Regions from separate parts of the Homo sapiens genome. Here all the other regions are linked to region 2. The links are contacts of gene promoters, found by promoter capture Hi-C in human tissues and cell types (Jung and others, 2019). All regions are on one chromosome and are shown on one strand. The core of a region is centred on a gene start or on the middle of the fragment in contact, and the rest is flanking DNA. Distances in the headings are between cores, read along the strand shown. Region 1 overlaps BET1-AS1 (BET1 antisense RNA 1). Region 2 holds the start of GNG11 (G protein subunit gamma 11). Region 3 has its middle 13 kb from the start of TFPI2.

Region 1 (4,301 bases), core at 1,687-4,186, 54 kb before region 2:
AGGCCAGGCACAGTGGCTCACTCCTATAATGCCAGCACTTTGGGAGGCCAAGGTGGGCAGATTGCTTGAGCCCAGGAGCTCCAGACCAGACTGGGCCACATAGCAAAACCCCTCTCGACAAAAAAATACAAAATTAACCGGGCATCATGGTACATGCCTTTAGTCCCAGCTATGGGGAGGCTGAGAGATGGGAGGATCATTTAGCCTCAGAGGTGGAGGCTGTGGTAAGCCAATCATGCCACTGCACTCCAACCTGGGCAACAGAGTGACACCCTGTCTGGAAAAAAAAAAAAGAAACAAAGTTGCAGATGCCACATTTTGAGACAATAACAACCAGTCTAGGACAGAGAGTTTAAGTAAAAGAAACATTAGATTATGGCCTCAGATGCTAGTAAGGAGCTTGAATTTGAGCCTGTACACGTAGGGGAATTGAAGGTTCCTAAGTGGGCAAGTGGCATATAATCAGGTAAAGGATTCAATGAAACCGTCACAAAGAAAGACTCCACAGGTTCTGGTCAATAAATATGATGGGGTGGTCATTAAAGAAAGTGTCAGATATGTTTTCAAGCTGGAAGAATGGAAGATTGACACAAGCATCTGGCCTCTGGGACAACATGCAGAATTCAGTTTTATTTCTGTTTACAAAGGAGAGTGGTCAAAGTGGGAGTTCCAATTTAGGAAGGAAGCTTCTGCATAGAGTGCCCCTGTGAGGGTTGGTCCCGTGGCCAAGAATAAGAGCTAGAGAGAGAGAAACGGAGAGCTGAGGTCTGAATCTTGTGCCAGATAGAAGTGAGTAAATGGTCAAAGTACAGGGTTTTTATTCTAATCCTTAAATCCTATTAAGTAAATAATTTAAAATATGAGGATTCATTTATAAACCAATTTTTTATTTTTTCTCAAATTAGTTTCACTTATACAGAGCTACTACCCGTAATCTGTACCATCTGTTTGGGGTTTATCTAATTAGAATGCATTCTGTAACAAAGCCAATGAAGGCTAAATAGTGACTTAGACTGGCAGGCAAAAAACTAGAGGTGCCTGCCCCATGCCCTGCTAATTCTGCATATGTATAGTAGAGACAGGGTTTCACCACGATGGCCAGGCTGATCTCAAACTCCTGGCCTCAAGTAATCTGCCTGCCTCGACTTCCCAAAGTGCTGAGATTACAAGCATGAGCCACCGTACCCAGCCCCTCCAACATCTTTGATGCTGAAAGATCTGTGCACAGTAGACGAAACTTCATCCAGATTATGACTGACTAACAAGGAAGATACAAGAGCTCAGGTTGGAGTATCCAAAGAAAATGTGATTGAGATATAGATATAGATAGATATAGATATATCTCAGCCATAAAAGGGAACAAAATAAGGGCATTCGCAGGAACCTGGATGGAGTCAGAGACTGTTATTGTAAGTGAAGTAAGTCACAAATGTTAAACCAAATATCTTCTCTTCTCACTTATAAGTGAGAACTAAGCCAGAAGGACGCAAAGGCATAAGAATGATATAACGGACTTTGGAGACTCATGGGAAAGTGTGGGAGGGTAGTAAGGGATAAAAGACTACACATTGGGTACAGTGTATGCTGCTCAGGTAATGGGTGCACCAAAATCTCAGAAATCACCACTAAAAGACTTATGCGTATATCCAAACACCATCTATTCTCCGAAAACGATTGAAATAAAATTTAAAAAATAATAATAAGTACTCTTTTATTAACCACATGTGGTCAAGGTGAGATGAAATATGAGGCAAAAAAGCAGCACTGTAATGCTATGTTCATTGCTATTTTTAAAGAACAATAAAATTACATTTTTTATTTACCTGAGAACTATTGTTCAGAGATCCTGCCGGCGTTCAAGCTTGACTAGTTTAAATAAAAATGACAATACCAAACATTCTTATGTTAAAAGGTCATTGTGCCATTTTAAGTGAGTACATGTACTTCATTTTATTGTGTTTTGCTTTATTGTGCTTTGCAGATGCTGAATGTATGTTTACACACACACACACACACACACACACAATAAGTAGATATCTTTAAAATGTATCCTGTGAAAAGTAGTTCTGGATGTGAAGGGGTTGGAGGGAAGCAGGATAAAATAATGACTTAGAAAGCTTTCTATCACATAAGCCTTCCATTAATTCTCTGAATACCTGCTCAGTTTTTCTGTAACTCTTCTGAGAGTACATTTACTTCTACTTTAAATGTTGTTTTGTTTTGTTTTTTCAAATTATTTAGAAACTAAGATCTCCATCTGTTTTTACAGTGGATCCTTCAGGTTCCAGGGATTTCACCAGTAGCAGTGAAAGCCTACTTCTGCTAATTTTGACTGTTCCTCAGCATTTGTCCAGAAGCTTAAAAAGAAGGAGGCTTACTTTCAGTGCCATCTATCACAGCTGCAGAATTATATCATGACATGTCAAAATAATGACTCTGAAGCCTTCCAAATCTTCCAAGAAAGAAGTAAGTTTTTAACAAGTACATTTGATAGTCTCATAATATTTTGAAAATTAAAAATCGTTATCTGGCAGGTGTGATTGAGCATGATATTAAAAGAGAACATCATGACATTCTTCAATTACTCAAGAGAAAGTAGCATTTTCCACCTATACCCATTATATCTGGATCATCTCGGCTTTCAAAAATGGTAAGCAGTATGCTTGTAATTAAAACATAAAGGATGACTTAATGACAATTTAAGTATCTATGCAAAAAACAGCATTAACTGGTGTGGAATGTCCTTTGCTATTAAAGCTTACAGACACTTTCTAATACGTCATATAAACATTTTTGCATTATCTTTTAAAATTAAAACACGATTTGTTAATTTTTTTACAACTAAAGCCATACATAAGGGATTTCCTGGCCAAAAATAAAAATAGTAATGCATTTTCTAAATATCACATGCTCATTGTAGAGATTTTGGAAAACAAAATTAAGGAAAAAATAAAAATCGTCTGCACTTTCACTTTCCAAAGATAGCTATTCTCAATATTCTAGTACATTTTATTTCAATTTTTAAAAACTTCTTGTTTTGTAAGAACATTACTTACAGAAAAGTTATAAAAATAGAAAAATACAGTTGCTTTAATGGTCAAAACCAAGAAGTTAACATTGGTACAATACTATTAATTAAATTACAGACATTTTTCAAATTTCACCAATTTTTCTTTTAATGTTATGTTTATGTTCCAGAGTCCTAGTCAGGATCTCACATCTCATTTAGTTGTGATGTCTTTATGGTTTCCTCTGATCTGTTACATCAGATACAACAGACACTTCTGAAGAGTCCTGGTCAGCTATTTTGTAGAATTTCCATCAATTTGGTTCTATTTGATGTTTCTCATGATTAGATTGAGATTATGCATTTTTGGCAAGAATACTACAGAAGTGATATGCCCCTCTCAGTGTATCATGTCAATATATGTATATCATGTATGATGTCAATGTATCTAATTATTGGTTATGTTGACCTGGATCACTTTCTAAAAGTGGTGTCTCCCAGTTTTCTCTACTCTAAAGTTACTATATTTCTTTTTTAATTAATAAATATTTTGTAAGAGTTACTTTCAAATGCAAATATTATTTCTCCTCAAACTTTTACCCAACAATTTCAGCATTCATTAGTGGTGTTCTAATGGTGATTTTCCATTTCCCTCATTCCTTCTTTACTTATTAATTGGAATCTTTTTCTAAAGAAGAGCTGCCTCTTCTCCTACATTTATGTATCTACTCAAATACTTATCTTTATCACTATGGCACCACAGATATTTACTTTATTCTATGGATTATAATCCAATTACATTTTTTCTTTTTGTAAATTTTTCTAGCTTTGGGCATTGGGATCTTTTCCATTTGGCTCCTGTGCCCTTTCAACATGCCCTATTCTTTTTTGAGCACTGTCGTACTTCCTGCTGCTGCATGGGGCTAAAGTCTTATCTTGTATATTTTCTGTGCCAGCCTTGGAATCAACTATATCTCCAAGGAGTTCTGGTTCCTTTTATTAGATAAAGGTATTAGAAACAAAAATCTGGGTGACAGGTGTGCTTACTACTAACAGAGTGTCACTACTTTTAGTACCTGTCAGTGAACATGGTTTCAGAATACATATATTATACTGGTTATTGCATACACATATGTCTAAGTTTATGTCAGTATTTATCTTTAAAAATGATGAATTCATATTGATATCTACAATTCCAATCCAATACTACAGGGTTTATTCTAGCTATCCCTTTTCTTATATATAACTTTTCTATTATAGACAAAGAGAAAACTGACTCTCATTTTCTTCAATA
Region 2 (4,124 bases), core at 1,439-3,938:
ATAATGCACGTGTCATAATTTAGGGTCTGTCGTCCCAGGTTAATTTCTCAGCAAGATACATGCTCCCTACATTGAATCTTTTCTTACAAGGTTTTTTCATTAGGTTTCAGAAGAGGTCTGTAACCTCCAAATGTGAGTAATTGCTCCTCTGATACATTTCCTTCCATAATCAAGAGGACATGTTTGATAAACATTTAACTACAGCCAGAATGCAACTTGCAAGTTTTGTCTGGGCCTAAGTTAAGGACTGAACACGTAGCCCAGATGTTAACTATTTATTGACTGAATAATGGACTGGGAATGAGAAGAAGAATGTTTTAGTACCTGCCCTATCACTATCTATCTCTGTGGTCTTAAATGTGGAGCTAGTTAGCCTTTGTGGGACTCAAGTTTTTTTTAATCCTTAAAGTGAGGGAGATGAATGATCTCTAAACATTCCAATGCTTGCCTAGCAATAATAATGTATAATTCCAAGTGTATAATCAAATGTCTTAATATTATTGTTGAGATTTAGATGCCTCTTTCTGTATTTCCTAAGGTTACATATATCCAAAGTTTTTTCTCCCTCTGGCATACACTTGAGGTTTCTGGAGGTGGGAAGTTGATGCCACAGGCCGTGTCCTAAAGGGTCAGGCTGGCTAGCAGGGAGAAACTGCTAATGAATGATACAGTCAATTTTTACATAGTCGGTTGCATCCACATCACTTAACTTAAAACTCTGAGTAAGTAGAAGACGCTTGTCTTTTTTCCTAAGTTCTACACAGTGATACCAAATATTAAGATATTAGAACCTTGCATAGACAATGCTGTACTTCAGCATATGAAACTCTGTTTAATATGTAACTCCTAAGGTTTATTGTGTGAACATATCTAAGTGGCCAGCACTTGCTGTACTGGGAACTTCGCCATCCATAAAATGGGTCCCTTAAGGTTTCAAGAAGCGTGCTTATTGATTGGGTAGTGTAACTTCCTTTTTTTCCCCTTTAAACGCGTTGGTGTTTTTAAAGCTACAAACCCTTAACATGATAGAAGGGACAGCTCATTATAAAAGCTAGGAAGAGCCGGGATTTGGATGTGAAAGGTTAAATTTGAGAAAAGAAATATGTAAAAAGTAAAACACAAAAATGCCTGCATCTTCTAATCATCACTCAACAGTGAAGACTCTTGCCCTTAACAGATTTATTATAACTAGAACAGGAAGGCAAGTGAGCATATTATAACGCTTCATTTCCATTGTTTTTCTTAATTTTTTCTAGTGCTAAACCATAATAAATAAGATCAGTTCAAAATTTTCTTGCTGAAGAGGAAAGGTTAATTATCTTTAAACAATATCTATTCAAAGACCTTTCCTAGTCTACAGGATGCCTGATTGAGTTAAAACAGGAAGAGGGATTAGTGTCTGAAGGAAGGTCTTGATGACCAGTAAGAAATTGAAGTAAAACTTATAAAACTCCCGAGACGTTTCAGTGGAGAATATTGAATACTGGGTCATATGTTCTCAATGAAATGGTAATCTCTATCAATAGTCTCTAAAACTTTAAAATTGTGATCACTAAAAAAATTTTTCATATGCACCACAGTGTATGTATAATTATTTATAAATAAGTACAGATACTACTGTATTAATCGCATACTAATAAAACATAAAGTGAAAATTATAAAGGGATGAGATTTACAAATAAATATAGAAATTCTAATATTTTGTTCCCAAATTTCGGTGGACTGTTCTTTGCATATCACTGAAGGCCACTGGTGAAATTCAAAATTAAATAATGTACTTGTAAGACTTTAAAATACGGTTTTAGAAAATTTCTTTCAAATATCATCCTTTCTAGTAGTGTAAAAGATCAAAGAACCAAGTAGCTATCCGCTTTTTTCCTACAAGTGAGTTTTGAAAAACAGCTGTCTAATGGAAAGCAAGATTTCTTGTCTATTTTCCCCTTCCTAGGCATCTTAAAAGTTAGGACATTTGGCCTTAAATTACTTATCAGATCCTTGCTCCCTCCTCTACCTCCTAGGATTTCCCCACATCAGCTGGCAGTCCCCAGGCACTGCCAAAGGGTGGTGAGAAGAGAAGCTACAAAAAGGGGGAAAAATAAGCTAAACTATTTGCTTTACTGTTACTAAGCAGGAAAAATCGGACCCTGCTTCATTTCAGAGAAGGAAATATTCCGGAACAGCCAACTTACTTGTTGTCTCTGCAACTTCACTTCTTTGCGAAGCTGCTCAACTTCCATTTTCAGTTTTTCCTTCTCTGGCAAATCTTCGATGTGAAGGGCAGGCATTTTCGCCCCAGAACCGGGCTCGGGCTAGCTCTGGCAGCGGAGCCGCTGGAAGAGCGGCGAAGCTCGGCGCGTCCCGAAACAACTGAAGGCCTGGCCCGCCGCCCACCCGCGCAGGATGTGACTGCAGCCCTGCTGCGGTCCCCAGCTCCCCGAGGGCTTGGCTTTCTCCGGGACGCTTGTCACGCCAGCGTGCCCCAGCTTCCTAGGACCTGAGAACTCTGCCTTTTCTCAAGTCCCTGCAACCCAGGAGGCCTGCCCGGGTGCTAGATGAGGGTTAAGTTTGAGACTGGGTCCAAGCAGCTTCCCGCTGCTCAATCGCCCAGCAGGGATGCTGGCCACGGACAGGCCCTGACTCAGGACCTGCCACGCCCGCGGGGGACGGCTGGGCTGGGGCTGCAGGACTGGGAACAGCAGAAGTTTTACTTTGTGTTCTCCGCGCACCCCCGCTCCTTTTTTTTTTTCCGTTTCCAAGTCACATCCGGGTTTTGTTTGTGAAGCTAGGAAAAGGAGTACACTACCCAGCAGGAAATAACTACCCTTCACCTCTCAAAGAGTTTTAAAAATATGCTAGATATAGCTTTTCCCTAATTACATACATAGGTTGTTGCAAAAGTAATTACTTTTCTCTAATTACATATATAGGTTGGTGCAATTAGTTTTGCACCAACGTAATAAATGCATAGTGGAGAATGCGGACGCTTAAGAAAAGGCTGAAAAGAAAATGAAGCTTAGCCCTAATCCCAGAAATACCCACCAGTGTTCTGCTCATTTGTGTCCATCCGGCTTGTTCGAGGCCTAATATGGGTTTATACATTTTGGGCGAGGAGGGGGCAACAGGGTGTGAATATCGTTTACAAGTTGCAAGAACATTTTCTATTATTAAATAATCATCTGCATCCTCAACAGCAGCAGAGTTTGTATTTTTTTTATTTTTCCGGGGGAATGTTATGTAGAGGGGTGCATCAAAGGATGATATAAGAGAAGACAGAAGCAGGAATCTTAGAGTTCTTAACCGAAAGCCTTTCTCCACTCCCCAACCCTAAGTTTTGGGTGACACTTGACACCAAGGATTTTGAATTCCTGGCTCCTGAACCTTCCTGGATGTAGGCAGTGGATTCATTTAGTATTAGTTTCTCCACTTTCTGGCAAGCACTATTTATCTAGCTGTTGCTCTGGAAAGCCAGGAAAAGTGTCCGATGTGAAAAAAGTTTACATGCAATAAAACTTTCCCTTTAACTGTAACTAAAGTCTTGTTGATGGTGGTCAAAAGAGTAGAAGAAAAATCAAACATGAATGTAAGAAACCTTCCCTAGCAGTTGGATATTTCTCTTTCTTTCCAGAGATAACCTCCTGCCTCACAGAGTCAAAGGCAAGTGAAATATTAACTTAATATTTCAGAGTAGCTGACCCAAGACACCCATGACCATTCCCTGTTTAGGAAGCAGGAGTTTTTGTTCGTTCCTAGTTTCTTACCACGCTCCGCTCAACCTCAATGAATAAATTAGAATGAAAAAAACAATGAACCACTTAATGAATACTCCTGGCGTGTAGTTGCAGCTCTGCCACAGGCCATCACTGAAGAAGTCATTTAATTTTTCTTAGTTTTGGTTTTCTAATTTGTAAAATGTATAGTAAGGCAGGGAAGTAGTGAATCAGCTAAGCTATGTTGTGTCTCTAATTGTGTTGGTATGTCTATATATGATAAATCATTTTCACAAAGAAAATGTTTAAGAGCTTCACTTTCAATATTTGAAATACCAGGGTTTTCCAAGCTCAGAGTAGTTAGAGCATCTACTGAAGTTTACTTGTAAATAAGCAGGGAGACTAGACAAATGTCCA
Region 3 (3,883 bases), core at 1,194-3,693, 45 kb after region 2:
TTTCTCTTTATGTAGCCTAATCTGATTTTTATATTCATATCTGTTAAGGCATACACAATAGAAATTATATGTTGACACTACCTTTAGAGTCCAGGCTCCTTAACCTATACATGCATTTGTAACTGTATCTTACCTGTTATTTGATGCTAAAAGATGGAAAGGTTTTCCTCTAAGATACAGTACAAGGCAAGGTACAAAGATGCCCACCCTCTGCACTTCTATTCAACAGTTCTATTAAAATTGCTGGAAATACTAGCAAGGACAATCAGATAAGAAAAATAAATAGAAGCCATCCAAATGCAAAAGGAAGCAAAATTATCTTTGTTTGCAGATGATATGATCCTCTGTGTAGAAAATCCTTAAAATGTCACAAAAATTGTTAGAACTAATGATCGAATTCAGTAAAGTAGCAGGACACAAAATCAACATCAAAAATCAGTTGCATTTATTTACATCAATAATGATCTATCTGTAAAAGAAATCAAGATGGTCAGACAGTTTTTATAAGATAATCTGTGGAAAATATGTAAAACTTCTTCTGATATTATACCATTCTTGTATTTGAATGATATGACCTATTTGTATATTATTTTTTAAATGCATTGCTAGATTTTGTTGGTTACATTTTAAGTATATTGAATCTATACTCATATATAACATTGTTAGATGTATTCACAGTGAACTGCAACTTTTATCATTATGTTCTTACTATTTGTTATATTTTTCTTTTTATTGAACTATCAAAGAAGTTTTCTACATTATTTTCATTTATGTATAAAATCATTTATATATAACATTTATACGTAAAATCATTTTTATATAAAAATATACATAATTTATGAATAAATGATCTTACATTATTTCTACATTCAAGTTGTTATTGAGATTTTCTTTGTGACTTCATGTAAGATCAATTTTCATGTCCTATTAAGAAGAAATGATATTGCTTTCATTGGAATATATATTTATTATTTATACATGTTAAGTTCAATTTTACACTTATTATTTAAAATATATATACATATATCCAAATATGTATATATCTGCCAGTGCTTGTTAAAGATTACAGACTTTATATTTGAATGTTGCATCAACATTTTTCTCTGTTGCATATTTTAGGACTATTTTCATCAAATTAAACAATTGAGTTTCACTTTCTTTTTCTTACACTAGTTATACGTAAATGTTGCCTGACTTTCTGTCCATTCTAAAGTGTCTTGGATTTTCCAGGATTAGCAACAACAAGCATTCCTATGGTGCATTATGAGGGGTTTCGGCAGCTTGCTAGGTTGCTTAGTTCAAGAGCACTCTCTTCTGAGGGTGCATGGAAGTACACTGCCTTTAATAAATGATGCCTTTTTTACGAGTTGATGTGTCTTCCACTTCTATTATTTTCTTTTTTAACTTTCTATGAGATCCTTACTTTTCACCACTTTATTTCTTCTTTCCATTCACTATCAAGTCTCTTTCCAAAGGATATCTACTTTTTTTAGGTTGCCTCACACTCCACCCTAAGCAATGCCTTCTCACAAGGTTGCCACCTCTCCGGTCCTGCAATTTTCATGCCTCTCCCACTTCCCCCAATTCCTCAATAGCCATTGCTTTGGTCCACCAGGCCACACACCTTAGTTGGAGTAAGGTCTTGTCTTATCCCAAAGAAAACACCAAAGAAAAAGAGTGTTTTCCTTGGGGTAACATTATCTGTGTTTCACCAAGTCTGGGACCCTACTGCATTCTCTTCTTTTTCACATAATTTTTATATTATTTCCTCAGTTATGTGTAAATAGAAGTCTATGTTTTCTCTTTTTCTTAGTTTTGCTCTATAAGTAACTTATGGGTGGTTTTATTAAGATCTCCTGATGAATCTGTATGGTTTGGAAAGTTACGTGAAAAGATTATTATTACTGTATATATACATTATTTTCTTAGGGAAATTGGAAGTCTCAAACAACGTGTTAAAATTTTCTTTGAAGTTTTAAAGACCATGGATTGATTTTTCTCTTTTTGTAACCTAATCTGATTTTATATTCATATCTCTTAAGGCATACAAAATAGAAATTATATGTTGACACTACCTTTAGAACCCAGGCTCCTTAACCTATGCATGCATTTGTAACTGTATCTTACCTGTTATTTGATGCTAAGACACAAACTGATATGGTTCTAGACTACAGTTTTTCAATAGAGGCCAGCTGCTTCCCTCTAAGTCTAAAATGGAGGTTAATCTCATATTAATCTTGCATCGTTTGCTTAGCCAGCTCTTTTGATATTTGATAATGAAGAGGTCTGCCCTCTGTTCTTAGCCATCCTCTCCTGGGAATTTTTTATCTGAATCACTGTACTATAATTCTCATGACAAATTGATATTATGCATTGCATATTAAAATTAATCTTTCAGCTGGGCGTGGTGGCTCAAGCCTGTAATCCCAGCACTTTGGGAGGCCGAGGGAGGTGGATCACGAGGTCAGGAGATCGAGACCATCCTGGCTAACACGGTGAAACCCCTTCTCTACTAAAAATACAAAAAAAAAAATTAGCCGGGGGCGGTGGCGGGCACCTGTAGTCCCAGCTACTCGGGAGGCCGAGGCAGGAGAATGGCATGAACCTGGGAGGCGGAGTTTCCAGTAAGCCGAGATAGCGCCACTGCAGTCCAGCCTGGGCGAAAGAGCAAGACTCCGTCTCAAAAAAAAAAAAAAAATTAATCTTTTAGGATAACTTTATTTTTACTTGTAAAATACAAATTCTTTTTTCACATAGAGTTCTTAGCTATAGGTTTTCATTTTAAAAATATAGTCTCAGTCCTTTTTTATTTATTGAGTCCATTAAAGGTAGATAAATGTTAGTATATCATCAGTTTAATTATTACATAGTAAAAACAAATGTGTTTCGAATACAGTCTACAGTTTTAAGTGAGTAAGCAATTTATCACTTTTTAACAATATTTCTGTCTATAATAAAATGTAAAATATTTTTTTCTGAATCTGACTTTTGTGGGAAAATGTCATTTCTCATAATTAATAATCACGGTAGTTTAACCTCAAGCTTAAGTGTTATGCTCCAAGGAGGCAATTATGTTTAAAATAAGGATATTTCAAAATTATTAAGTTAATAGTCCTAACAAATGTTAAAACAAACATTTAACTGCTAATAACAGGTATTTTCCCTTTTTGAAAAATAAGCAAATGGTTATTTATTGACTTTCTTTTTCTAGGATTTGTATTGATTTTTGCAATATTACAGTGTTTTATTTCTCTTTAAGAGTAATTTCTTAACCATATGGAAACATTCATTCAGGTTTACTTTATGATCTGTTTTCAAGTTAAAAACAATAACATCCCACTAAATGGATGTGTATAATATCTATGTTTCCTTCACAAAATGATCATTATCTCTAATGTAAGAAATTAATAATACAAAGGATACAGTTAGGGTTATATTTCTGTCTTCTCTATTTTATCACATTATTTATTATTTACCAAATTACAAACTTTTGTATTCTACCATTCTAAGACCAATGGAAGGTTTAGTACCAATGTAAGATAATGCTTTTGCTTCACTTGGATAGTTTACTTTGAGCTAGGAGACATATTTGATTACAAATGAAAGCTCTGAACATCCAGCTTTAGAGATAAGGAGAACTCTTCTCTCTGTCAATAGTACCTCTTTTTTTCTTTCATGAAATAGGATGTACTATCAAGTAATTACCTTCACCTGTGGGAAGTTTTACTCCTCTGTGCTGTGATAGGGTTGTTTTGCTAAGCCACTTCTCTAAATCAGCTGGTCCTTCAGAGGAATGTAGGCCCACCTTGAATCCATATTCTCCCTGGTATTTTGCTGCCAAGATGTTCCTCATTCAGACACATCTGAGCCTTATCAGCTCACT

What was found. The method cuts DNA at HindIII sites, captures the fragments that hold promoters and counts their contacts. A contact is called where the count stands out against the background at its distance.
Region 1: a contact is called between a fragment that was not itself captured here and the fragment with the promoter of GNG11 in region 2, in 1 of the 25 tissues and cell types used here (H1 embryonic stem cells).
Region 3: a fragment that was not itself captured here is called in contact with the fragment with the promoter of GNG11 in region 2 in 1 of the 25 tissues and cell types used here (thymus).

What each region holds. Positions count from the first base shown.
Region 1 is chr7:93,974,069-93,978,369 of GRCh38, reverse strand. All of the region lies in intron 1 of BET1-AS1 (BET1 antisense RNA 1), which reads right to left. It also overlaps a transcript of BET1 not described here. Among named protein-coding and RNA genes, the nearest start is that of BET1-AS1, 7.8 kb to the right of the region's middle. The HindIII fragment of the contact is 3,323 bases long and covers 1,275-4,301 here.
Region 2 is chr7:93,920,299-93,924,422 of GRCh38, reverse strand. GNG11 (G protein subunit gamma 11) reads right to left here and starts at 2,688. Exons shown (of 2, transcript NM_004126.4): 1 at 2,190-2,688. The coding sequence starts at 2,285. The region is part of intron 1 of LOC105375402 (a long non-coding RNA gene); the gene reads left to right. RefSeq lists an enhancer at 2,451-3,086. The HindIII fragment of the contact is 9,220 bases long and covers 1-4,124 here.
Region 3 is chr7:93,875,327-93,879,209 of GRCh38, reverse strand. No RefSeq gene overlaps it. Among named protein-coding and RNA genes, the nearest start is that of TFPI2, 13 kb to the left of the region's middle. The HindIII fragment of the contact is 5,642 bases long and covers 1-3,883 here.